Linked DNA regions of Homo sapiens: all the other regions are linked to region 6. Evidence: promoter capture Hi-C in 16 types of primary human blood cells and fetal thymus (Javierre and others, 2016). All regions are on one chromosome and are shown on one strand. Each heading gives the region's core, a stretch centred on a gene start or on the middle of the fragment in contact. The rest is flanking DNA. Distances are from core to core; before and after follow the strand shown.

Evidence for each region. Contacts are between HindIII fragments. The CHiCAGO score rates a contact against its expected background, and 5 or more counts as called.
Region 1: the fragment with the promoter of DNAJC9 here is called in contact with the fragment with the promoter of VDAC2 in region 6 in 1 of 17 cell types (total B cells); the score reaches 7.6 in total B cells.
Region 2: a contact is called between the fragment with the promoter of C10orf55 here and the fragment with the promoter of VDAC2 in region 6, in 5 of 17 cell types (M0 macrophages, neutrophils, non-activated CD4 T cells and 2 more). The highest score is 6.4, in M0 macrophages.
Region 3: a contact is called between the fragment with the promoter of POFUT4 here and the fragment with the promoter of VDAC2 in region 6, in 1 of 17 cell types (neutrophils). The highest score is 8.7, in neutrophils.
Region 4: a contact is called between the fragment with the promoter of PPP3CB here and the fragment with the promoter of VDAC2 in region 6, in 1 of 17 cell types (non-activated CD4 T cells). The highest score is 5.0, in non-activated CD4 T cells.
Region 5: a contact is called between the fragment with the promoter of SEC24C here and the fragment with the promoter of VDAC2 in region 6, in 1 of 17 cell types (total CD8 T cells). The highest score is 6.4, in total CD8 T cells.
Region 7: a contact is called between the fragment with the promoter of CAMK2G here and the fragment with the promoter of VDAC2 in region 6, in 2 of 17 cell types (neutrophils and fetal thymus). The highest score is 6.0, in neutrophils.

Annotation. Positions count from the first base shown.
Region 1 is chr10:73,245,209-73,248,588 of GRCh38, forward strand. It overlaps DNAJC9 (DnaJ heat shock protein family (Hsp40) member C9), which reads right to left and starts at 2,047. Exons shown (of 5, transcript NM_015190.5): 1 at 1,802-2,047; 2 at 1,480-1,620; 3 at 714-968. The coding sequence starts at 1,981. DNAJC9-AS1 (DNAJC9 and MRPS16 antisense RNA 1) reads left to right here and starts at 2,159. Exons shown (of 4, transcript NR_038373.1): 1 at 2,159-2,175; 2 at 3,085-3,242. RefSeq lists enhancers at 1,489-2,688, 1,954-2,293 and a silencer at 1,604-1,753. The HindIII fragment of the contact is 5,448 bases long and covers 1,112-3,380 here.
Region 2 is chr10:73,921,106-73,924,274 of GRCh38, forward strand. C10orf55 (chromosome 10 putative open reading frame 55) reads right to left here and starts at 1,672. Exons shown (of 5, transcript NR_160938.1): 1 at 1,528-1,672. RefSeq lists an enhancer at 1-362. The HindIII fragment of the contact is 3,151 bases long and covers 274-3,169 here.
Region 3 is chr10:73,770,289-73,773,550 of GRCh38, forward strand. POFUT4 (protein O-fucosyltransferase 4) reads left to right here and starts at 1,988. Exons shown (of 3, transcript NM_173540.3): 1 at 1,988-2,753; 2 at 2,902-3,262. The coding sequence starts at 2,046. SEC24C (SEC24 homolog C, COPII component) reads left to right here. Exons shown (of 23, transcript NM_198597.3): 21 at 1-183; 22 at 421-510; 23 at 667-1,873. The coding sequence ends at 807. RefSeq lists enhancers at 1,710-1,889, 2,480-2,589, 2,875-3,262, 3,250-3,262 and a silencer at 2,220-2,269. The HindIII fragment of the contact is 15,546 bases long and covers 1-3,262 here.
Region 4 is chr10:73,494,626-73,497,685 of GRCh38, forward strand. It overlaps PPP3CB (protein phosphatase 3 catalytic subunit beta), which reads right to left and starts at 1,399. Exons shown (of 14, transcript NM_021132.4): 1 at 1,180-1,399. The coding sequence starts at 1,264. It overlaps PPP3CB-AS1 (PPP3CB antisense RNA 1), which reads left to right and starts at 1,127. Exons shown (of 5, transcript NR_132104.1): 1 at 1,127-1,192; 2 at 1,517-1,858. USP54 (ubiquitin specific peptidase 54) reads right to left here. Exons shown (of 24, transcript NM_001391956.1): 24 at 2,913-3,060. RefSeq lists enhancers at 466-925, 1,416-1,605 and a silencer at 986-1,335. The HindIII fragment of the contact is 5,148 bases long and covers 309-3,060 here.
Region 5 is chr10:73,742,639-73,745,777 of GRCh38, forward strand. SEC24C (SEC24 homolog C, COPII component) reads left to right here and starts at 1,734. Exons shown (of 23, transcript NM_198597.3): 1 at 1,734-1,799. LOC124902453 (a long non-coding RNA gene) reads right to left here and starts at 1,627. Exons shown (of 2, transcript XR_007062195.1): 1 at 1,579-1,627; 2 at 326-573. RefSeq lists enhancers at 1,076-2,275, 1,115-1,682, 1,353-1,782, 1,683-2,249. The HindIII fragment of the contact is 9,340 bases long and covers 1-2,162 here.
Region 6 is chr10:75,209,189-75,212,607 of GRCh38, forward strand. It overlaps VDAC2 (voltage dependent anion channel 2), which reads left to right and starts at 1,608. Exons shown (of 10, transcript NM_001391963.1): 1 at 1,608-1,750; 2 at 1,946-2,001; 3 at 3,042-3,110. The coding sequence starts at 1,971. RefSeq lists enhancers at 931-1,512, 1,243-1,537 and silencers at 1,182-1,491, 1,512-1,881. The HindIII fragment of the contact is 6,617 bases long and covers 285-3,419 here.
Region 7 is chr10:73,872,930-73,876,224 of GRCh38, forward strand. CAMK2G (calcium/calmodulin dependent protein kinase II gamma) reads right to left here and starts at 1,626. Exons shown (of 23, transcript NM_001367534.1): 1 at 1,468-1,626; 2 at 60-154. The coding sequence starts at 1,532. RefSeq lists silencers at 1,019-1,078, 1,339-1,508, 1,569-1,728, 1,739-2,018 and an enhancer at 2,239-2,348. The HindIII fragment of the contact is 9,701 bases long and covers 1-3,295 here.

The DNA of each region.
Region 1 (3,380 bases), core at 797-3,296, 2.0 Mb before region 6:
CTCTCTGCCAGCGTCTCTTATGTAAAAGCTGCAGAAAAGTTCCTGAGGGCACTCAGGAAGGCAGCAGTGGTCCTAAAAGTTGTGTGCTCCTTAAGAGAATCTAACGCCCGATGATCTAAGGTTTCATCCTGAACCACCCCCCCAACTCTCCTCACCCCCACTGTCACTGGAAAAACTGTCTTCCACAAAACAGGTACCTGGTATCAAAAAGGCTGGGGACCGCTAAGCTAAAGTTTTTCTTTAAAAAAAAAAAAAAGAAAAGAAAAATTCTGTATCCAACTCAAGAATCAAATTCGGGGCAAAGGCCCAAACATCTGCACTTTTAACAAGACGGTGTCTGCCATTCTCTTCTTACCCCCTCAACCGAGTAAGGATCACTGCCCATCCTGTGTACCCGGGTTCCACTAACTTTATCTCCTGAGGAATGCCTCAGGAATGCTACAAGAATTGGCCTACATGAAAAAATATTTCAGTGCTACTTTACTATGGTAATATTTAAACAATCTATGCAATAAAAATCATCTTGAGCACAACATGCTAGAAAAAGTTTCTCTTGATGAACTGGTATGCCCATTTTATTAGATCGAAACTATAGACCAAGTTAACCCTAGTCCTTATTTCTGGAGTTTTATGTTTACTTCTACTGCTGTAAATACTCTCAAATCCTTTTTGGAAGCAGTCAAAATATAAATCCACAGTATTCAAAATCTTACCCTCCTTTTCCTTGCATTCATCTTTTGTTTCGATTCTTTGACAAAGGCATTATAGGATGGGACCTCTCCGGCGTCAATAGCTTGCTGAATGATATTCCTTATCCTGGGTTCCTCTGTGTACTGCACGCAAAGCACAGACTCCATGATCTGATCCATGTCACCCTTGAAGTCCAGATAGGCCTGCTTAATATCAGCCAGCTCTTCTTCCGAACCTTTGTATGTCTTTTCAAAAGCTTGAATGTCCTCTAAAGATATCTGATGATAAAGGAGATTTGCTTTAACTTTGGGAATTTTACTTTAAATAAAACGTACGTTAGTAAAACTAGAGTTGGGTGTTGAATTGCTGCAATACAACAGTTGCTTGAGTTGAAATTATTGAACCAGATTTTCTATGCCTAAGCTTCTCCGGAGTCCTCCTTTTTAAATCCAATCTTCATTAACTGCTAACTAGGGACCAGGGAAGGGAAATTTAAGTGAAATTTCCAAGAGTGAGAGGTGATCCGGAATCAGGACTTACATTTGGATATGTAAAATAAAGCGCATCCGGCAAAAAAAATAAATCGGCCCTTTTCAGTGCAACAATCACATTAACAGGAAATTTAAAGCCCGTTTCAGTAAGCGTGCGTGTATCTGTATTTCAAGGCCAAACTCAAAATTCCTAATTCCTACAAAATTAACACAAAATACAAGATCTTAGAGGCAGTCAATAAAGGTTTGTTGATTGAATGATGGTAACAGTCACAAAGAAACCTCCAGAGTCCTTTACCTTTTTAAAGAGTAGCCGCCAATACGCCTCCCAGTCTCGGTCTTGGGTGAGCACAGGAGAGTCCTCGTCCACTGTTCCCTGCTCATCGTACACTGCTCTCTGTTCTCTGTCACTGAGAACGGAATAGACTTTTCCCAGGATCTGAGGGCAAAGAGTATCCGTAAATCACCCCTGCTCCTCCCACCGAAACGGCGGCGCGAGAAATAAAGATCAGAAGGCGCCAAGCGGAGCTCAGCGCGCTCCCCCGGGGCGGGGCCCGGTAGCCAAAAGGCTAGGGGGAGGCCCGCGCAGCCGGTCGGCTTCGGGGCGGGACCCTGCATACCTGGAAGCGGCGGGTGGCGTCCTCCTTGTCGCCCTCACCCACCCGGTCCGGGTGTACCTGCAGGGACACCTTGTGGTAGCCTCGTCGGACCTCGCCGTCGGAGGCCTCGCGTCGCACGCCCAGCACCCGGTAAAGGTCGGCGGTGCCGAACACTTCCTCGCAAAGGTCCAGCAGCCCCATGCCGGGCGGAGATACGACCCCGGAGGAAGCAGCCGCTCCCAGCTGCGCCGGGTACAACCCAGGACTGCTTCTTTTTCGCGCCCAAAAAGCCCAGGGCGCCTGCGTCACAAGCACTGAAGGGGCGTGGCCACGCCGCGCATCCGCGCTTTACGGCGGCCGCAAAATGAGGTGTGGCGAGTCAGGCGCGGGCCCGGGTAAGTAACGCCGGCATGTGGAGTCACAGTCCCCGGCCGCGCGCAGGAGCTAGGTCTTCAGGGAAGTGATGTTGCTCGGGTCTCTCCTCCCCTTGCTCTGGAAATCTGGCGTCCGTCTTACCTTTTAGTGTCCAAGAACAACTTTTTCAAAAAGTTCATATATTAGCTTGAATTTACAAACTGCTGGCCTATTTTTTTAAGTAGAAAACGGCCAAACATCAGCATTCAGCAGTTACACATGGTTCAACTTAACAGATGTGTTTTTTCAAAAATGTTCTTGAAAGGAATAGGTAAAGCTGTAGACCCAAATAATTTTGCACCCCACTGGTTGGAAATGCTGGGGTACTTTCCCTCTAGCCCTGTAGGAAAAAACCCTATACTGAAACCCAAAAAGCACAAAACACGGGTCTTCCAAAAACTCTTACCTAATAGGACTTTCACCTTACACATTGGTGGAGAGAGATAACATGACCCAAGCCTCCGTCTTAATAACATAAACTGCTGAAGCAAAGGCTCTTTCTTTTAATACTCTGTGAAGTTCACAGCTGGGTTTGAACATGTTGGATCCCAGGTGGCAGCAGAGTGGGCTGGAGCAATCATCCAAGAGATGGTGAGAAACTTGGGCCTGGAGACCCAAAGCAAGGTTGAGGCTGGGGATAAAACTTTGTTAGTAGGGTAAACTCACAGAGGAAGTATGTGTATACATATCTTAAAGGATAAACAATGCTAAGTGAATACCCGAGTTGGCAGAAAATACCTTATCAAATATCCCCTCACTGATGTAGCATTTTTCAGAATCATTCTGCTCTGCCAATAAGTTTCTGCAAAGCCTCAAACTCTCCAGGATACATTAATATCTTTTAAACTTCCCAGAGTTGCCGTGATTTTCAAAGCATTTCTCTTTCCCAGATCCAAGATCAAACTCAGCTGAAGTCAGTTCCTCTCAACCTGCCCTGGCATCAAAGTCTCAAAGCAAGTGGGGGCCAACCAGCAACAACCCCAGGGGAGCTTTGACAACCACAGAATTTGAGATGGCTGGTAATCGTTCTCAGAACATAAAACACAAAGTAAGTCGGCACATTGATAGAACCTCCTCTATAAATTTCCTATATCTTAGTCACACACCAGAGTTAAGCCATCTGTCTTTGCTCATTTTTCCCTCTATGGACAACATAATATGTTGGGAAGGGCTTTCCAGGAGGGCA
Region 2 (3,169 bases), core at 422-2,921, 1.3 Mb before region 6:
CAGACCAACACTGTGCTAAATTATTCATGTGTTGTCTGAGTTAATCCTCCCAAGAATCCTATGAGGAAGGTAGTATCACTAGCCCCATTTAACAGTAGAGAAAATGGAGGCACAGACAGATTGAGTGACTTGCACGAGGCAATGCAGCTCCAAATGCAAAGAGTCAGGGTTCGAACCCAGGCAGCCATCTCCAGAGTCCTCATGCGCGGTACTAGGATTTATCACCTCTCAGGAGAGTCCAACTAGGGCAAAAGGAGAGCAGCCCCCCTTTCAAGCTTTCTACTTTATGGTTGCTGGGTTTCTAGGCAACAGCTATCAGAATTTTTTTTTTTTTTTTGAGACGGAGTCTCACTCTGTTGCCAGGCTGGAGTGCAGTGGCGTAATCCTGGCTCACTGCAACCTCCGCCTCCCGGGTTCAAGTGATCCTCCTGCCTCAGCCTCCTGAGTAGCTGAGATTACAGGCACATGCCACCACGCCCGGCTAATTTTTGTATTTTTAGTAGAGACGGGGTTTCACCATGTTGGCCAGGATGGTCTCGGTCTCTTGACCTTGTGATCCACCCGCTTTGGGCTCCCAAAGTGCTGGGATTACAGTTGTAAGCCACCCGCCCAGCCCAGAATTTTTTTTTTTTTTTCCATACACAGTCTTGCTCTGTCGCCCAGGTTGGAGTGCAGTGGCCCATCTCGGCTCACTGCAACCTCTGCTTCCCAGGTTCAAGCTATTATCCTGCCTCAGCCTCCTGAGTAGCTGGGATTACAGGCGTGCACCACCACACCCGGCTAATTTTTGTATTTTTAGTAGAGACGGGGGTTTCACCATGTTGGCCAGGCTGGTCTCAAACTCCTGACCTCGTGGTTCACCCACCTCGGCCTCCCAAAGTGCTGGGATTACAGGCGTGAGCCACTGCGCCCAGCCTCATCTATCAGAATTTTAATCCTCTCCTAGATAACAATTCTTTCCTCCTAGAAGATTCCCAGGCCAGATGAGGAGACCACACTCAGCCATTGGTTTCAAAGTAAAACTTCACTGTTCTCACAGTAACCTCAGCCTTTCTGCTGCAATCTGGTTTCATTGAAGTGGTTTCCGTTTTCACCAGAACCCCTCTTTCTGAAGTATTCTCAGCCCATTATATTAACAGCACTCAGCCTGCTTTCCACGTATGCCCTATCTTTCCCAAGCTGACCACAGCAGCACCCCTGCCTATACCCCTCCATACTCACTCCCATTGGGTCCACCTTCCTTCCAAGAAGGAAACATTTAAGCCCTCCCTTTGAATTAGATGAAGTAAGAGGAGTTGCTGAGGTGTTTTTTAAAAATCAATTCTGGGCTAGGTGCAATGGCTCACACCTGTAATCCTAATACTGTGGGAGGCCTAGACGGGAGGATTGCTTGAGCCCAGGAGCTCGAGGCTGCAGTGAGCTATGATTGCACTACTGCACTCCAGCCTGGGTGACAGAGCAAGACCCTGTCTCTAAAGAAAAAAAATCAGTTTTATTGAGATATAATTCATATATCATACAACTTACCCATTTATTCTTTCTCTTTTCTAGAGACAGGGTCTTGCTCTGTCACCCAGGCTGATCTCAAACTCCTAGGCCAGAGTGATCCTCCCACCTCAGCCTCCTGAGTGGCTGGAATTACAGGCTCATACCACCACGTCTGGCACCATTTGAAGTGTACAATGCAATGGTTTTTAGTAGATTCACAGAATTGTGAGACATCACAATCAATTTTAGAACACTTCATCACCTCACAAAGAAATCCTGTACCCACTCACAATCACTCCGTTTTTCTCCCCAACCCCCTCAGCCCTAGGCAATCACTAATTTACTACTTTCTGTCCTCTCTGTGGGTTTGCCAATTCTGGGCATTTCATATCAATAGAATCCTATAATATGTGGTTCTTTGTGACTGGCCTCTTTCACTCTTAACATGATGTTTTCAAGTTTTATCCATGGCATAGCATGTGTCAGTGAGGTTGCTGAGTTTTAATAACAAATTGAGGGAAAAGATGGTCTAGGCGAGGTGCAGTGGCTCACATCTGTAAATTCCAGCACTTTGGGATACCAAAGTGGGAGGATCCCTTGAGTTCAGGAGTTCCAGAACAGCCTGGGCAACATAAAGAGGCCCCATCTCAAAAAAAAAAAAAAAAAAAAAAGGATGTTCTAGGTCTCTTTTTGAGGTTTCAGTCACATTGAGATTCATTCAACAATCTTTGTCATTTCTTTCTTTCTTTCTTTTTTTTTTTGAGATGGAATCTCGCTCTGTCGCCCAGGCTGGAGTGCAGTGGCGCAATCTCGGCTTACTGCAATCTCTGCCTCCCAGGTTCAAGCAATTCTCTGCCTCAGCCTCCCGAGTAGCTGGGATTACAGGTGCCTGCCACCATGCCCCACTAATTTTTTTCTATTTTTAGTAGAGACGAGGTTTCACCGTCTTGGCCAGGCCGATCTTAAATTCCTGACCTCATGATCCACCTGCTTCGGCCTCCCAAAGTGCTGGGATTACAGGCATGAGCCACTGCGCCCGGCCCTTTGTCATTTTTTTAAAGTACCCATACACAGGACATTATTTTAGATACAAATGAGGCAGTCCTAGTCCTCAAGGAGCTCACCACTTTGCAAAGTGCTATACTAAGTCTGCATAAAATGCATGGAAAAATAATGAAGAAGCAATTGATTCTGCCTGGTGAAGTCAATGACGACTTTACAGAAGAGGTGATATTTTACCTGGACATTCAAATACACACAGAAATTTGCCAAACTAGAAGAAAGGCATTGTAGGCGTAGGGAAGTTCATGGAGGCATGAAAAGGTGAGGTGTTCTAAGGAAATGAGGAATAGTCCATTGTGGTGGAGAACTCTGGGGGGCAATGAGTAGGTGGAGATGGTGGGGAAGGATCTGGTGGGATCCAGCTGGTGATGACCCTGCTGCAGGACTGATTCTCAGCAGCAGGCACTGGTTCTGCTCAGTGACTAAACAGATGCTGTCCTGAGATCCTCTCCGCGTGGCCCCTGCCATCAGCCTCTCTCCACTTCTTCATGATCCAGCAACCACAGGGTTAATGCCTGTGGCACAGCAAAGGCCTCTGAGATCCTCCCTCCTCCAGCTGGCTCAGGCGAAAGTGTCCTACTGGGGTATCTTGATAGTTAAATATTTTGACTATCACCTC
Region 3 (3,262 bases), core at 738-3,237, 1.4 Mb before region 6:
CCCGTTGAGAGTACTACCGAACCACCAGCAGTTCGAGCCTCTGAAGAGCGTCTAAGCAATGGGGATATATATTTACTGGAGAATGGGCTCAACCTCTTCCTCTGGGTGGGAGCAAGCGTCCAACAGGGTGTTGTCCAGAGCCTTTTCAGCGTCTCCTCCTTCAGTCAGATCACCAGTGGTTTGGTGAGGGCAGGGAGTCAAGGAGAATATGGGTGTGGAAGTATACTTTGTGAAACAATTGGGAGCCAATATAGTTAGTGTGCTAGTACCCTCAAATATCAGGGAACACTTGGGGACAAGGGCAGTTGCTGTCATTCTTCCCAGGTTTGCCTGTTTCAGATGATGCATACATGTATGCTGCCCCACCTTGACTGAACTCAGAGTGCCTTACCATAAGGATAAATGAATTTTGTGTTCTAGAGTGTTCTGCCAGTTCTGGATAATCCACTGTCCAAGAAGGTTCGAGGCCTCATTGATAGCTTACGGGCACAGAGATCCCGGTACATGAAGGTAACACTGATCTGAACCCTGGATTTCTTACCTTGTCAAGTCCTCACCTAGAAGTGGGGGTTGGGTGGGGAATGAGTAAGTGACTGCCTAATGAGATTTCTGGGCATGTTTAATTTCCTTTGGCCTTGCCTTATGAACCCTGAATTCTGGCCGTAGCTTACCGTGGTGAAACAGGAAGACAAGATGGAGATGCTGTTCAAGCACTTCCTGGTGGAAGACAAGAGTCTGAGTGGGGGAGCATCTTATGTGGACTTTCTCTGTCATATGCACAAGGAGATTCGGCAGCTACTGAGCTAAAGCAAGTGGGTAAATGGCATAGGGCCCAGGCTAGCTTCCAGAAAGCACCCCAGGATGTCAGAGAAATTGGGACAGTAACATATCTTATGTAAGCTGACCTCAGTCTCTCTGGGGGGAGGGGGAGATATAAGGAGACACCTTCTTTCTGGGCTCAAGTATCCTGCCACTCTGTCATGTCCTGCTGATGGAAGGTGCCCCTGTTCCCTCATTCTACCCTCTTTTTCCTGCTAATCCTGTCATAATGAATGTAGCTTCTCAGTTCACTGTATATGATTCGGTATTGGGGGTTTGGAGGCACCCAGACCCTGGCAATATTATGTGTCCCTTTGGACCAGTCTCCCAAGAGGAGAGGGGCAGGCAGGAAAGAGTGGGGATCCTAAGGTTACTACAGGGGGCTCAGTGTCATCCACAACTTCCTATATTAGGGATAAAACATATAGGTGCACAAGAGCTGGGGTATAGCCCATAGGTGGTGGAGAGAAAAGTGGTCAGTCCTTCTTGGGCCTGGAGGTTAGCAGTCAAGTTTCTCTGCTTTCACTGCTCGCTCGCTCTCTCCTGCAATGATTGATGATCACTCCGTGGATAGAGAGGCACACTGTCAGAGGTGACCGGAGAACTGAGTTGCAAAATATATTAAGATCTGGTAGAGGTACCAGCTTCCTTTCCAGCTGGAGAGGCCCCAACACTGGATGGTTCTGTAGGGAGCCTAGGGAGCCTGGTCATCAACTTGCAATACCTCACAGAGCCAGTTCACATCCCACTCTGAGCTCCCACGAGAAACACTGCTTCTCCAGGCCCGGGGTTGTTGGGGAGAGAGGCAGAGGCAGCTGGAGCGCCGTTCTCTCCTGCTGGGACACCGCTTGGGCTTTGGTATTGACTGAGTGGCTGACAGTTATCTTCCAACCCCAACTGGCTTGGGGGCAGGACAAGGGCTAGGCTTGATGGTGGCCAGGCTTGCCTGCTCCCCACCTGGGATGCCCCTGCTCTGGACCTCTCATTTCTCTTCATTGGTTTATTTTTCAATGCATCTTTAATTTGTAAAGAAATAAAATAAATTAAGATGTAACCATTAGCCTCATCTTTACTCCCGAAAGCTCACTTTGCTTTTAGTCCTGGCCGTCGGCTGAGCGAGCTGCGCATGCGCCACGTGCCCCCGTGGCGTAGGGCCTCGTCCGGTCACGACTATCCGCTGGGCGGGGTCGGTGCTGGCCGAGGGGGCGCCGGCTGCCGGAGTGGACATGGCGGCCGGCCCCATTAGGGTGGTGTTGGTCCTTCTAGGGGTGCTCAGTGTCTGTGCAGCCAGCGGCCATGGGTCCGTAGCGGAGAGGGAGGCCGGCGGGGAGGCGGAGTGGGCGGAACCGTGGGATGGCGCGGTTTTCCGGCCGCCCTCGGCGCTGGGCGCAGTGGGGGTGACGCGCAGCTCTGGGACGCCGCGGCCAGGGAGGGAGGAGGCGGGGGACTTGCCGGTACTGCTGTGGTGGAGCCCAGGGCTATTCCCCCACTTCCCGGGAGACTCGGAGCGCATCGAGTGTGCGCGCGGCGCGTGCGTGGCGTCCCGGAACCGCCGAGCGCTGAGGGACTCGCGGACGCGCGCGCTGCTCTTCTACGGCACAGACTTCCGCGCGTCGGCCGCCCCGCTGCCGCGCCTGGCGCACCAGAGCTGGGCGCTCCTCCACGAGGAGTCGCCCCTCAACAACTTCTTGCTGAGCCACGGCCCGGGCATCCGCCTCTTCAATCTTACCTCCACCTTCAGTCGCCACTCGGATTACCCGCTGTCGCTGCAGTGGCTGCCCGGGACCGCCTATCTGCGCCGCCCGGTGCCTCCGCCCATGGAACGCGCGGAGTGGCGCCGCCGCGGCTACGCGCCGCTGCTCTATCTGCAGTCACACTGCGACGTGCCAGCGGACCGGGACCGCTACGTGCGCGAGCTCATGCGCCACATCCCGGTGAGTGAGGGCGGGCCGGAGGGAAGGAAAAGGAGAGGGCGGGTTGAGGCCAGGACTCCAGGTGTCCAGGACTCCAGGTGTCCAGGACTCCAGGTGTCCAGGCCTCCAGGGCCGCACCCTCATGACAGCCTTACTGTACCCGGTCTAGGTAGACTCCTACGGGAAATGCCTGCAGAATCGGGAGCTGCCTACCGCGCGGCTACAGGACACAGCCACGGCCACCACCGAGGATCCAGAGCTCTTGGCTTTCTTGTCCCGCTATAAGTTCCACTTGGCCCTGGAAAATGCCATCTGTAACGACTACATGACAGAAAAACTGTGGCGTCCCATGCACCTGGGCGCTGTGCCCGTGTACCGCGGTTCTCCCTCTGTGAGGGACTGGATGCCGAACAATCACTCCGTCATCCTGATTGATGATTTTGAGTCTCCTCAGAAGCTGGCAGAGTTTATTGACTTTCTGGACAAGAATGATGAGGAGTATATGAAATACCTGGCATACAAGCAACCTG
Region 4 (3,060 bases), core at 149-2,648, 1.7 Mb before region 6:
AGGCTCAGGTTGAAAATTTTTAATTAAAAAAAAAAAAGAAAAAAGGTTTCCTTGTTTTTAAATATTTTAATGGAAACATATGAGTCAGATTTCAAAAAGTAGGCTAACGGTGTTTAAATACTGTGCCAGTGTATTTGAGAAGCTGAATGAAAACAAAAGTACCTATATTTTAAAAATAAATACAATACAAATAAGGAAAAGTTCATTCTACGATTTCAATTTATCAATCAAGCTACATGGTAAAGAGAATCATTTCAATTGTTTTTCACCTCCACAGCAGTGTTTGAGGTTGGTAGGCTCTCCCAGGAAGCTTGGAATCTTAAGCAACTCTCAATTAGCCCTCAATTTCTCTATTTTAAATTAATCTGCTGACCTGTTGTGGGTAAACATCCATAAATTCTGCCCTGGCTGAGAAACATTTAACTTTTTCGTCTAGGATGAATGTGTGGGTGTGTGTTTGTAAGGGAGGGGTAACTCCTTTTGACCAAAGTGTTGATGGTTTTCTAAGTAAATACTTGCTATCCACAAGAATTTTTTTTTTCGTTTATGCTGCTTTTTCTCCCTTTCTGCACTATAAAGGCTGGCCTTCCAATTCCTGCCCCGACCCTTCACCGTGATCCAATCCCACAAGGTTCCCCTAATTTCTGCTCCGGGTGGCACCTGACGGCCAAAAGTGAACCCCTGCGGTTGTCGCCAGCTAGACGCGGATAGGGCGGACGACTGTCACCGGGGAGCAGGCGTGGGCCAAAGCCGAGGTGATTTCTGACTGCTCACTGGCGGGCCTCGCGTGGCTGAAGGTCTCCGAGCCCCTCGGTTCGCCCCGGCAAGCCAGAAGTGCAGCTGTCGCGGGGCAGGAAGCTAATCGCGGCCCCTGCGCCGCTTTGACAGGCCGAGTGAAGAGAAAACGGGCTCACTGCAGCTAACAGCCTCACCCCTTGGGCTAGGAAGCCACGGAAGCAAAACCTCCGCCCCGGCCTGAAAGCAACCGGGAGACCGCGGAACCACTGCCACCGACTCAGCCCTGCCCAGCAGGGGCCCGCCCAGGGGCCACTCCCCAAGGGAGGCAGCCAGTCACTCGCCCGCCCTTCCGGGCCCACTCCCGAGGGGACGGTCTCCCGCCCGCCCTCACACACAGCTAGCTCTTCAGGCCAGGCCCCCAGGGTTTCGTCCACCTCTCACCTTTGACGACGCGGTCAGCCCCGGGAGGGGGCGGCGGGGGCGGGGGTGGGGGCGGTGCAGCCCGGGCCGGCTCCGGGGCGGCCATGCTGGGCCCGGGGCTCGGCTAGGCTCTGGGCCGGGCGGGGTTGGGGGCGGGGGCGGCGGCTACCAGAGCCAAGCGGCGGCGCCGCCGGGGAACATGGCGGACCCTCTTTCCCTACAGAGGGGCTAAGACCGGCATGCACTGCGCGTGCGGGGGTGGGGGCGGGGTAGGCTCTAGGGACTTGGGCAAAATTACTGAAGCTAGGAGAGAAACAGGACGAGGCCAAGGGATCAGGTTAAAATTCTTTGCATGCAGAATGAAGAATGAGGAGGTGCTGCGATCGAACGACTGCGAGGAAACACACCCGCTCTCATGGCATTCCCAGTAAACTGAGAAGACGTGATTAAACCTCAGGATCTCCTACTAATAGAGAAATGTATAACGATTTAGCTACCAGATCTGAATACTGAAGGGTTGGTAGGGGACCAGAGAATAGAGGAAGCATTGTAGGTTCTAGAGTGGAGAAGGGACCATCCAAAATGGAGTTTGAAAGAGAATTCTGGCCTTTGTGTTTAGAGTCTGGAATTGTCAAGAGTCTGAAAGCACAGAATAAGACTGCAGCTAGAGCAATTTAGGCGCCATAGTTTGTCAAAACAGGTAAGGGGAATAAAGGGGATGACACCAAGAGATGTGCAAAGAATCTGAAGAATTCACCTGAAAAGGATACAACCTCCTCCTGGAAGGCAGAGGAGTAAATAGGGAATTGGAAATTAATTCCTTATTTCTGCACATGCACAGAATCTGGGCCCAGGTGACTTATGGAACCTTTATAGAGACCACGGTGACTGACACTCATGGGAAAGGGGGTAGAGGGGCAAGAACTGACTGTTCATCAAAAATTATTAGATGAGTGTGTCCACGACACCAGGAGATATGTTGAATCATGGACAGGGACCAGCATATCCACTAAGCTCTATATATCTTGATGGTGCAGGATCCAAGTGGGATGGAACAACCAATTCCTGCCCATCCTCCTGCTCAATAATACATGTGCTCAGAATCTGTTCATAATGCATGGTGGTAAGTAAGTAGTAGTCCGAAGGTCCAAGGAGTACCTTTCTACCTCTTCTTTGTGTCAATTTCTATCCTGAGACCCCAGGAAAAGAGGAAGGGAAAGACCCAACAATGGATTTTTTCCAAAAAGGGAACCCACAAGCTATTTTTTAGAGGGAAGAGTCTCGGGAGTGAGGCACAGGTGAAAATGGATCTTTCTGGCATGGAAGGGCCATAACACCACAGGGGAAGGGAAAGGGAGAGGCCCCCACGGAAGGAGAGGAAGGAAGGGACAGGAGGCACGTCACAAACTTATAAGATAGAGGGAAGGCACCTGGAGTACATTGATCAGGAGTGAGTCTGTAAGAAGAGCTTGAATCCCCAGAAAATCTTCCTAAGGAGGGGAGGAAGGAAGTGTATAATGTACTGAGTACTGAATGCTCTGTCAGGAAAGGGATGGGAAACATCCTAGCAGCAATACTAGAAAGGAAAGGCACCCTATTTTAGGACCCATTGATTCCCACCTTGATTGTATATCCTTCAACTCGTCTCTGGCTCCTCACTTCCACTCAGTCAAAAGCCACTTCATATATTTATCCAGACTTCCAGCCCCAATACAAAGAAAGCAAGAGCATACAAAGGGAAGAATGACAAGGAATTAAATAGAACTGTCTTATAGATTTATTAATGAAAAATACTTTACAAAAACAGTATGTTTGGCCTAAAATAGTTCAGCTGACTCTGAGGGTTTACATTGACGACTGAGCAAGTGGCAATAATGGCTGTGTTATTGAGGACAGAAGGCT
Region 5 (3,139 bases), core at 484-2,983, 1.5 Mb before region 6:
ACTGTCACAAAACAAAACAGAGGACAAGAACAATCTGCTTGTTTAGTAAAGCATGCTCAATGCCTAATATATAGTTTCCAGCACAGCCTAAAGTGCAAATTTTTCAGTGAATAAACCACTCTGTGCCTCAGAATAACTGATATTTACTGTCAATAATATGAGAACAAACACTTTTGTTCACTGCTCTATTTCCAGACCCAAGAACATGGCTTGGCACACAATGTCAGCGCTCAGTGGGTTCACCCTGCCTGCTGCCTTGACAAAGCTGATTTATCAAGACCAGGGAATTGCAATGGAGAAAGAGTAATTCACGCAGAGCCAGCTGTGTGGGAGACCAGAGTTTTATTATTACACAAATTAGTCTCCCTGAGCATTTGAGGATCAGAGTTCTTAAAGATAATTTGGCGAGTAGGAGCTTGGGAAGCGGGGAGTGCTGATTGGTCAGGTTGAAGACGGAATCACAGGGAGTCAAAGTGAGGTTTTCTTGCTGTTTTCTGTTCCTGGGTGGAATGGCAGAACTGATTGAGCCAGGTTACTGGTCTAGGTAGTCAGCTGATCCAATGAGTGCAGGGTCTGCAAAACATCTCAAGCACTAATCTTAGGTTTTACAATAGTTATGTTATTCCTAAAAGCAATTTGGGGAGGTTCAGACTCTTGGAGCGAGAGGCTGCATGTCCCCTAAACTGTAATTTGTAATCTTGTAGCTAATTTGTTAGTCCTGTAAAGACAGACTGGTCCCCAGGCAAGAAGGGGGTCTTTTCGGGAAGGGGCTATTATCAATTTTGTTTCAAACCATAAACTGAATTCCTCCCCAAAGTTAGTTCCACCTACACCCAGGAATGAATAAGGACAGCTTAAAGGTTAGAAGCAAGATGGAGTCGGTTAAGTCTGATTTCTTCCACTATCATAATTTCCTCAGTTGTAATTTTGCAAAGGCAGTTTCAACAGCAGTGCTCGAAAAATTATGAAATCAACAAATAGTACTGAAAAGTTCAAATGAAGTCATATATGAAAAAGAAATCCTAGCACTGTTAGCTATAATTACTTAGCCATTAAATGGGGTACTAATAATTACTGCAGGAACTATCTTTTCCAACAGAGCGCAGAGATCTTTTGGCTCTGATAAAGCTCTGCACCTAAACAAAGGCGCTGTATAAAAATGGTTAATAACAATTGACCTTTACTGAGTGCTTACTATGATGCCAAGCGGCCTATGTGGCCTAATTTCATCCTCTGGGCATTATTATTTCCATTTTACAAGCTGTAGAGCCAGACCTCAGACCCCCACATGCAGGTTGACAACAGTTGGTGCCCTTTACCACCACCACACGTTCCGCAAATCTCATAACCAGCAAACGCCATGGGTGAGAGCAACCTAGCGGACGGAAATCAACGGGGTCAGGGGTCACCAGGAAGTGACTACAAGACTCTAGCTCAGAGGTCACTAATACGTCACAGGCAGAGTGAAGGGGCATTATTAAAGATAGTTTGACAAATTCTTTTTAATCTCATTTCTGTTGGTGAGGCCATAAAGTGACTGGAACATCTGAAAAAAAATGTCAGGAGGGAAATACATACGACTCAGCAGAGGCGCACAGGCGGCGGCCATGATGGGAAGATGAAAGAGGCGCATGCGCGGCATCCGGGTCCCCGAAATGCAGACGTGGCAGAAGAAGTGGCCCGGCCCTAAAGCGTGGAGGAGGAACTTCCGGGGGTGACGGGACGGCCCCCTCGGAACCGGAAGTGGAGCCTGGGAGCCTTGACGTTAGGAACGAAGTCTAACCTGGATCTGGAGCCGGGTGAGGAGTGGCATCGGGAGGTTGGCGGGTAGGAAAGCAAAGGAGAGGTCAGGGTATTACTGGCCAGATTGGGGTCCGGTTTCAGAAAGAAGGGAGGAGCCTGGGGGCGGGGCCTGGGTAGAGACCCTCACCTCACGCATCCACCATCCAGGAGCAGGTCCTAGACCATCCCTTCGTCTCCCGGCCCAGATTCCGGCTCCTGCTTCCTGCCCCGAGCCTGTTAAAAGGTGCAAGACGTTTGGTCTCTGTGCTTAACAGAGCAGCCCCCTCTCTTAACGTGGCCCTAGAAGCCGACTTGGCTTCTCGGTTTTGATCCTCGGCTCTCCGAGGCTCCATGGCTTGACTACTTTCAGAGTTCTAGGAAGCTTGCCCCGCCCCCTTGGGTTGTCACCCTCGACTATCCACCCAGAATGGAGTCGAGACTTCAGTCTGACTCCAAGCTCTTGAATGTGTTTGAGGGGATTATTTTCTGGAGAAGAAGCTCCTTTCTTTACCCCTCCCCCCGGCTTTGGAAACATAAAGGGAGAGGACATATTTTAAACTTAGTGTCAGTGACCTACCTCTGTAAGGTTTAGGGTTTGGAAGAACAGCTATTGAGATAACTTTGAGTTTAAAGAGTTTTAGACCAGGATCAGCTCCTTTTCTATAGTCAAGGTGGCCCTTCTAGCAAAGGGGGAGAGGTCCATTGTTCCCTTTGCAGCAACTCTGAGTGCTCCTGCTTTCTGGGCCCCTTCTGTCTACAGGATAATTGGAATGATACAGCTGTTGAAAGTAGATGTGATGAGATAGTTTTCTTGGAAGGACCCTGTTTAGAAAAGGCCCTCTAATTCATCCCTGTGTTGATGAGCAAGATTGTAATAATTTTGATGGTGGCTGAGATTCATAACAATCGTAAGGGGAGCAGAAACAGGAGAGTTGGAGAAGTGCATTGGAATTTAGAATATTCATAGTCTTCTGCTTGAGGGATGAGGTGAATGATTTTTTTCCATGAAATCTAACTCTAACTTTGCCCCTGATTCTTGAACTGTTTCCTCAGATTATGTGAAGAAGTTTTGGTGCCTGTTCTGCACTTGGTTTTAATCTGTTACCTTGCTAGAGTTTTCAGGTGTCCTTTATTTTTTATTTTTTTGAAAGGGCGTCTTGCTCTATTGCTCAGGCTGGAGTGCAGTGGCACGATCTCGGCTTATTGCAATCTCCGCCTCCCGGGTTCAAGCGATTTCTCCTGCCTCAGCCTCCCAAGTAGCTGGGATTACAGGCGTGTGCCACCATGCCCGGCTAGTTTTTGTATTTTTAGTAGAGACTGGGTTTCACCGTGTTGGCCAGGCTGGTCATGAACTCCT
Region 6 (3,419 bases), core at 358-2,857:
TCTTAACTGGCTTTTAGTTCCAATTCTACAATTGGGCAACGCTTCATTCTGTAAAATGGAATGAATGTTCCAATGAGAAGAGGAAGTTGGTATTACAGACAGAAAAGGACCGAGGAAAGCAGAAACAAAAAGTGGATTAGTTGGTAGAAAGTTACTTTTCTTGTAAAGGTTAAAGAACACGGGACTTCTTCATGCCAGCTAAAACTGACCTGTTTGGGGATTTTTGTTTTGAGACAGGGTCTTACTCCAGCGGGCAGGCTGGAGTGCAGTAGTGGCACCATCTAAGCTTACTACAGCCTCAACCTCCCAGGCTCAAGCGATCCTCCCTCCTCAGCCTCCCAATTAGCTGGGACTACAGGCGCCAGCCACCACGCCCGGCTATTTTTTTTTTTTTTTTTTTTTTTTTTGGTAGAGGCAGGGTATTACTATGCCTAGGCTGGTCCGGAACTCCTGAGCTCAGGCGATCCGCCCACCTCGGCATCCAAAAGTGCTGGTATTACAGGTGTGAGCCACCGCGCCCAGCCTGTTTGGGGATCTGGCTAGCATCTGTTTCTCTCCTGATTTCTTGGAAGGTCAGATAAAGATCCTAGCTTTGGCGTGGTAGTGTGAAACTTCAGCATGAGTAACCCCATTTTGGTTTGGTCTGATGGGCCTAATGCAGGAGGTCAGTCTAAACTAACGGTCTCCCATATACATTTTATCTAATAGCTCTGTCACCCTTCCTGCACACCCGGGGAACTCGGGTGCGGCATTCTAACGCCTGCTCAGCATGATTCCACATTTTCTCCAGGCCCATAATCCAGAGGAGGTTGGGCCCGGAGCAGGCTTGCCTCGCCAAGCTCCGGCTCCGTGCGTGTGTGAAGCAGTGCCATGCCTGAGTGGGGAGGAGCCGCGGAAGAGAAAGCGTAAGGCGGCGTGGAAATGGGTGGGGCACGCTAGGACCCGCTCACATTTGTTCAGGGAGAGGCAGTCCCAAAAAGCCTCTCAGGCACACAACCCAGCACAGCAAGGCAGTCACACCAAGGTGGGAAAAGAGGGCAGAAGAGCGCGAGGGGCTGGAGGTGGCGCCCCTGTGTCCCACTCGTTCTCCCTGGGCTGGGAAAGAGAAGCGGTCCCTCAGAAGCGCAGGCTGCGCTAGCTTAGGATGGACGTGGGTAACGCTCAGCTGACTCCCCGCAGGCACCCTATGCAGGGCTTTGTTTCGGGGGGGAACCCGCACCAGCGCGTAAGGGGAGTAGGAGAGATCTACGTGACCCTGGTGCGCAGCCGCGCCCTATCGCCCCGGCCACGCGCCGACGCCCCGCCCCGTCCGTGACGCGTTCGCGCGGGGCCTCCGCCCCATCCCCCTCCCAGGCGGTCCCCAGCGCGCTGCCTCCGCCGTTCCCCGCCCCCTCGCCTCTGAGGCTGCCCGGATAGCTGCCTGATCCAAGGCCCAGCAGCTTCTGCCTTCCGGATCCCCACCGACGGACGGAGGCAGCCCACCTGCAGGACCGGGGCGCTGTCGGTCCACGTGGCCGCTCTGGAGCAGGTTGGAGTTGGCAGCGGGCTGCGCTGCAGGGACAGGCGCGGCGGACAGCCCCGGGGGCAGCGGCGGGGTCCTGTCTGGGAGAGGACAGGGTTGCGGCGGGCGGAACGGTGTCTCCTTCACTTCGCCCTCCAGCTGCTGGAGCTGCAGCCCGACCGCGAGCGTGCCAAGCGGCTTCAGCAGCTAGCGGAGCGGTGGCGGCGGCCCCCCTCAGGACACCACCAGGTACCGCCGCGCCCGCCTCACGCCGACCCAGGGGCCTAGGCCGCGGCGGCCAAGCCGGAGGCCCGCGCCGGACTCGGAGTCGGCCCTGGCTTCCTAAGATGGCCGCGCTGCCCCGCGGCCCCTCGCCCCTCTCTGCCCGGGATCTCCCTTTGGCCCTTTGACCCCAGCTTACCGCACTTCTTGTCCCTCCCGCAGATTCCCCTCTTCCCGCGGCCTCGCCATGGCGACCCACGGACAGACTTGCGCGCGTCGTAAGTAAAGCTGGGATCTCTGCGGGATGGGGCGGCGGAGAGTCGAAGCCTGTCGACCAGAAACCCAGTTTGTTTCCCCCTATCTTTCCAAGAACTTGGAAATTCGGCTGCTTTTGGTGGTCGCCCCACCGTCTGACCACCTCCTCTGCGGAGGAGGGGCTGGGCTGCTGGATTTCAAATGGGGAACAAGGCCCGGGGAGTTGGTCTGTGGCCGCATGGACTTTTCAGCCTTTGTACATGTCTTTGACGTATAGAAGTAAAAAGTTGTTAATTGGGGATTCTGCCTTTGGAGGATCGGATCAATCACTTTTCTAGAGGAAGTAGCAGTCCCTCTTGTGAGAGCGCAAGGTCATTACTTGTGCTCCTAAGGGCGTGGACGTGCTTTGTGGAATGAATGAGCTGGTGTAATGAGCTCAGATTGCCTGCCCTTAAGCAGCACAGCATTGGCCGAGGACTTGAGAGTCACATTAGTAAGTTTGAAGCGCTATTTGATATTTAGTTGATGTAGACATTTGAGTGAAACACACATGGCAGTATTTTTTCCAAGTTTCAATATTTAAATTCCCAGTATTAAATTCTCTTCCCACTCCAGGGTGTTGGTTTTCCCCTCAGCGAAGATATTAAAGGACGTATCAGGGTAAAGGGCCTAGTCTTAGGTTTCGGTTTTATCTAATTTAGTTAAATCAGCTCATCTCAGTGAATTTTGGCAGATACATAAATATCCATACACACAAATACTTGTTTGATTCTTTGTACTTGTCCAGTCCTAGGAAGTGAGGCTGTAGGTAATAGACTGTTTTTCCGTTTTGAAACGAATTCCCCAAGTTTGTATAATCATGGTTATCTGTTTTAGAAATAATTCGTTGGTGGTATCTCCTTTATGGGTCGTTATAGTTCTATTGTAGCTCCTGACCGCATAAAAAACATTCCAACAAATGGGATTGCTTGAATTTTAATATCAGCAGTGGGTCATGCTCTTGTTCTTGGATAGAAGGTGGGAGAATAGAGACATTAACACTGGAATGTTTTTTTTCTACCAGCAATGTGTATTCCTCCATCATATGCTGACCTTGGCAAAGCTGCCAGAGATATTTTCAACAAAGGATTTGGTAAGAACCTTATTTTTAAAACGTTTTAGATAAAGAGTGAAAATGTATGTTTGGGTTGCTTAGCGAAATCAGATCAATCATTGCAAATTGTAAATATCTTGCTGCTTTAAATTTAGAGTTACTTATTTTTTTGAGACAGGGTCTCCCTCTGTTGCCCAGGCTGGATGCAGTGGCATGATTATACCTCACTGCAGCCTGGACCTCCTGGGCTCAAGCGATCATCTTTCCTCAGCCTCCCACGTCCCAAGTAGCTGGGACTACAGGCACGCTCTGCCACACCTGGCTAATTTTTTTTATTTTTCGTAGAGG
Region 7 (3,295 bases), core at 376-2,875, 1.3 Mb before region 6:
AAAGAAACCATGGCCCCTGGAGGCACCCTCAGGAAGAGGTCAAGACAGGGAACACTCACCCCGGGCAGACAACTTCTTGGTATTGATGATTTTTGCTGCGTACTCCTGCGTGGAGGTTTTCTTCACACACCTGCGGACCACAGAGAAAGCACCCCTGGAGGGAGAAGGGGAAAAGAACTGGGACACGGAGCAGGGCAGAGTGACACAGACACACTTCAAGTCTGGGGACGATGATGCTCCCACCACCAGACCTCTAGTCACACTCACGTACATGCACACACACCGGCGCTGTGACCACCACCATCCAACATGAGGCAAAAGGACGCGGCCACCGCAGGACACTGAACAGATGTGGGTGGCGTGCCGCGCTCCCACCCCCTCATCCAGTCCCTGGGCAAGGCAACAGCCTCCACCTCAGGCTGCACATCAGGAGCGGGTGGGCGATGCTGAAAACACACACCTGCTGCATCTCAGACAGCCCTGCGGTCCCGGCCAAGAGAACCAGGGCAGAAGGGAGCAGAGAGACCCTGCCCTTCTCTCAGCAGGAACAGTTGAAGGTCGGGGAAGGAAAGATTAAAAAGAGGGTATCATCCCCTGAAAGAGAAATCTCCCTCAACCATGGGGCAAAGTGAGGCTCAAACCCCCCCACAGCCGGTTTCATCTCACTGCATCCCGGCTCAACTGACAGCAAGGGAAGAGAGGACACAGTCAGACATCAAGAACTCCCCTTCCCATGCTATTTTCCTTGACGTCCCCGTCAAACGGGAGCTCGCACTCTGAGCTCTGGAAACGTCTGGGGGGGCGGGCGGGGCGGGGGCTGCAGTGGCCGGGCTCGGCGCCGCGGGTGGGGGTGGGGGGCCGGGGCTGCTGCAGCGGCCAGCTCAGTGCGGAGGGGAGGGGGATGCTGAGGCTGCGGCGCGGCTCCCGGGACCACTGCAGGGGTGGGGGGAGGGGACGGGGGTGCCGCAGCACTGCCCAGCCGCGGGGCTGGGAGCCTGGAGCGGCACCCGCGGGGGGCGGGGCCGGGCGCCAAACAGCCCCCCCACGCCCGGGCTCCGCAGCAGAGCTAGGGCTGCAGGGCTGGGGAGGGTCCTGAGTGCGAGGCGCGTGGGACCTGGGTTCAGGGTGCGGAGTGAGCAACCGGGCAGCGTTGGGAGGTGGTCGGGAGGGGGGCGCCTGAAGGGTGCGGAGGGGCGGGGCTGGAGGGCACCCGGGAGCGGTCCGGGGTCTGCGGTGTCCGCGGCGGCGCGTGGGGAGCAGCGGCCCCGCCAGTTGCTGCAGGGCGCGGAGGGGGATGCGGGGCAGTGCGCGGGGGGCGCGGGGACCGAAGGCGGCGGGCGGGAAAGGCGGGGGTGGGGCGGCCGAGGGGGAGCCGCAGCGGCCGGTGCAGGGCCGGGGGGCGGGGCGAGAAGCCGCATAGCTCCCGGGCGGCAGGGCAGGCAGGGGACCGCGGCGGGCGGGCCGTACTTGCCAAGCTCCTCGAAGAGCTGGTAGTCGTCGGTGAAACGGGTGCAGGTGGCGGTGGTGGCCATGCTGGCGGGCGGGCGGACGCGGCGGTGCAGCCCGCGCCGACGTCGGTGCACAGTCACCGCCGCCCGGCCGAGGGAGCAAGAGGAGGAGACGGGGCTGAGCCCGGCAGCACCGCGAGACTTTACCGGGGAGAGCGAGGGAGGGAGGGACACCCCCGCGCCGCCCGCCCCGCCCCGCCCCCAGGCCCCGCCAGTCCCCCCCCCCGCCCGGCCCCCGGCCCGCCCCCGGGGAGGGGCCTCCCGCCGCCGGCCCCGCCCCGCCCCGGAGCCGCCCTCGCTGGGCCAGGCGCGCGGGGCAGCCGAGGGGAGGGGGTCCCCGCTCCGGGCCACCTGTCTGGGCAGACGGAGCTGGAAGGTTCGCGACTTATGGGCTTGTCCCGGGGCGGACCCCGCGCGGGCTCGGGAACGTGCATGCGAGGGTGCATGTGTTAGGAGTGTAGGAGTCTGGACCACTGACCTCTCTGGACGGGTCCTACACGCGGGTCCCGAGCCCCCAACCGGGCTCCTAGCACGTGGGGAGAGAGCCAAGGTCAAGGAGCCTGTGCCAGGCTGCACGCCCGGGAGGCGCCCCCAGCCTGCGCAGAGCCAGCTGCCAGCCGCCTTCCCTCTGGGAGCTGACAGTCTAGACTTGCGCAAGCACCAGGGCCATTATTAGAAAGAAACCCTTCAGGCGCGGGTTGATCAGGGAGACCAGGCCAGGGGCAAGGATACAGGTAGGACTCTGCCTTCCTGCACCATAACTGCAGAGATGAAAGAGTATTCTCTATCCGGCCAGAAATGAAAGGGGTGAAGTAGGAAGACTTGAAAAGGCTTTGTGCAGTGGGGGCTAGAAGAGAAAGTGGAAGAAAGGGGAAATCCCCATTTTCTTGCAAGGCACCCTCGTACTTTTATTTTCTGGCACCTACCACATTTTGTAGTGATGCATTGACTGGTATAAGGGGCAGTAGAGCTATCTCATAGCTGTCTAAGCGTGAACTTGCATCAAACTGCCTGGATTGGATTTCTAGGCAACTCACTGATCAGCTCTGTGACCTGGGGTAAGTCACTGAATCTTTTTTTTGAGACGGAGTCTTGCGCTGTTGCCCGGGCTGGAGTGCAGTGGTGCGATCTTGGCTCACTGCAGCCTCCACCTCCTGGGTTCAAGCGATTCTCCTGCCTCAGCCTCCCGAGTAGCTGGGATTATGGGCGCGCGCCACCACGCTCGGCTAATTTTTTTGTATTTTTAGTACAGACGGGGCTTCATTATGTTGTAGTAATGAAGTATGTATGTAGTACATACATGAAGTAATGAAGTATGTATGTAGTACAGAGGTGGCTTCATGAGCCACCTCGCCCGGCTGGGAACAATAATATTACCTACCTCATAGGCCTGTCAGCATTAAATGGTCTAAGGCACTTAGAATAGTACTTGGTGCCTAATTAGAACTACATTTGCTGGGCCGGGCGTGGTGGCTCATACCTGTAATCCCAGCACTTTGGGAGGCTGAGGCGGGTGGATCATGAGGTCAGGAGTTCGAGACCAGCCTGGCCAACATGGTGAAATCCTGTCTCTACTAAAAATACAAAAACTAGCTTCCCGCTGAATTGTAGGCTCCAATAAAGCGGGGCCTCTGCACCTTTTGTTCACCATTGTACACTCAGCCCCTGACCCTCAGTAAATATTTGTGGGATGGCAGAGGGAGATACCATCCCTTCTCCTGTCCCCACCATCACAAGTTGGTGGGACAGAGGCACATAACTGTCTTGATGGGGGACAAACAGGCTGG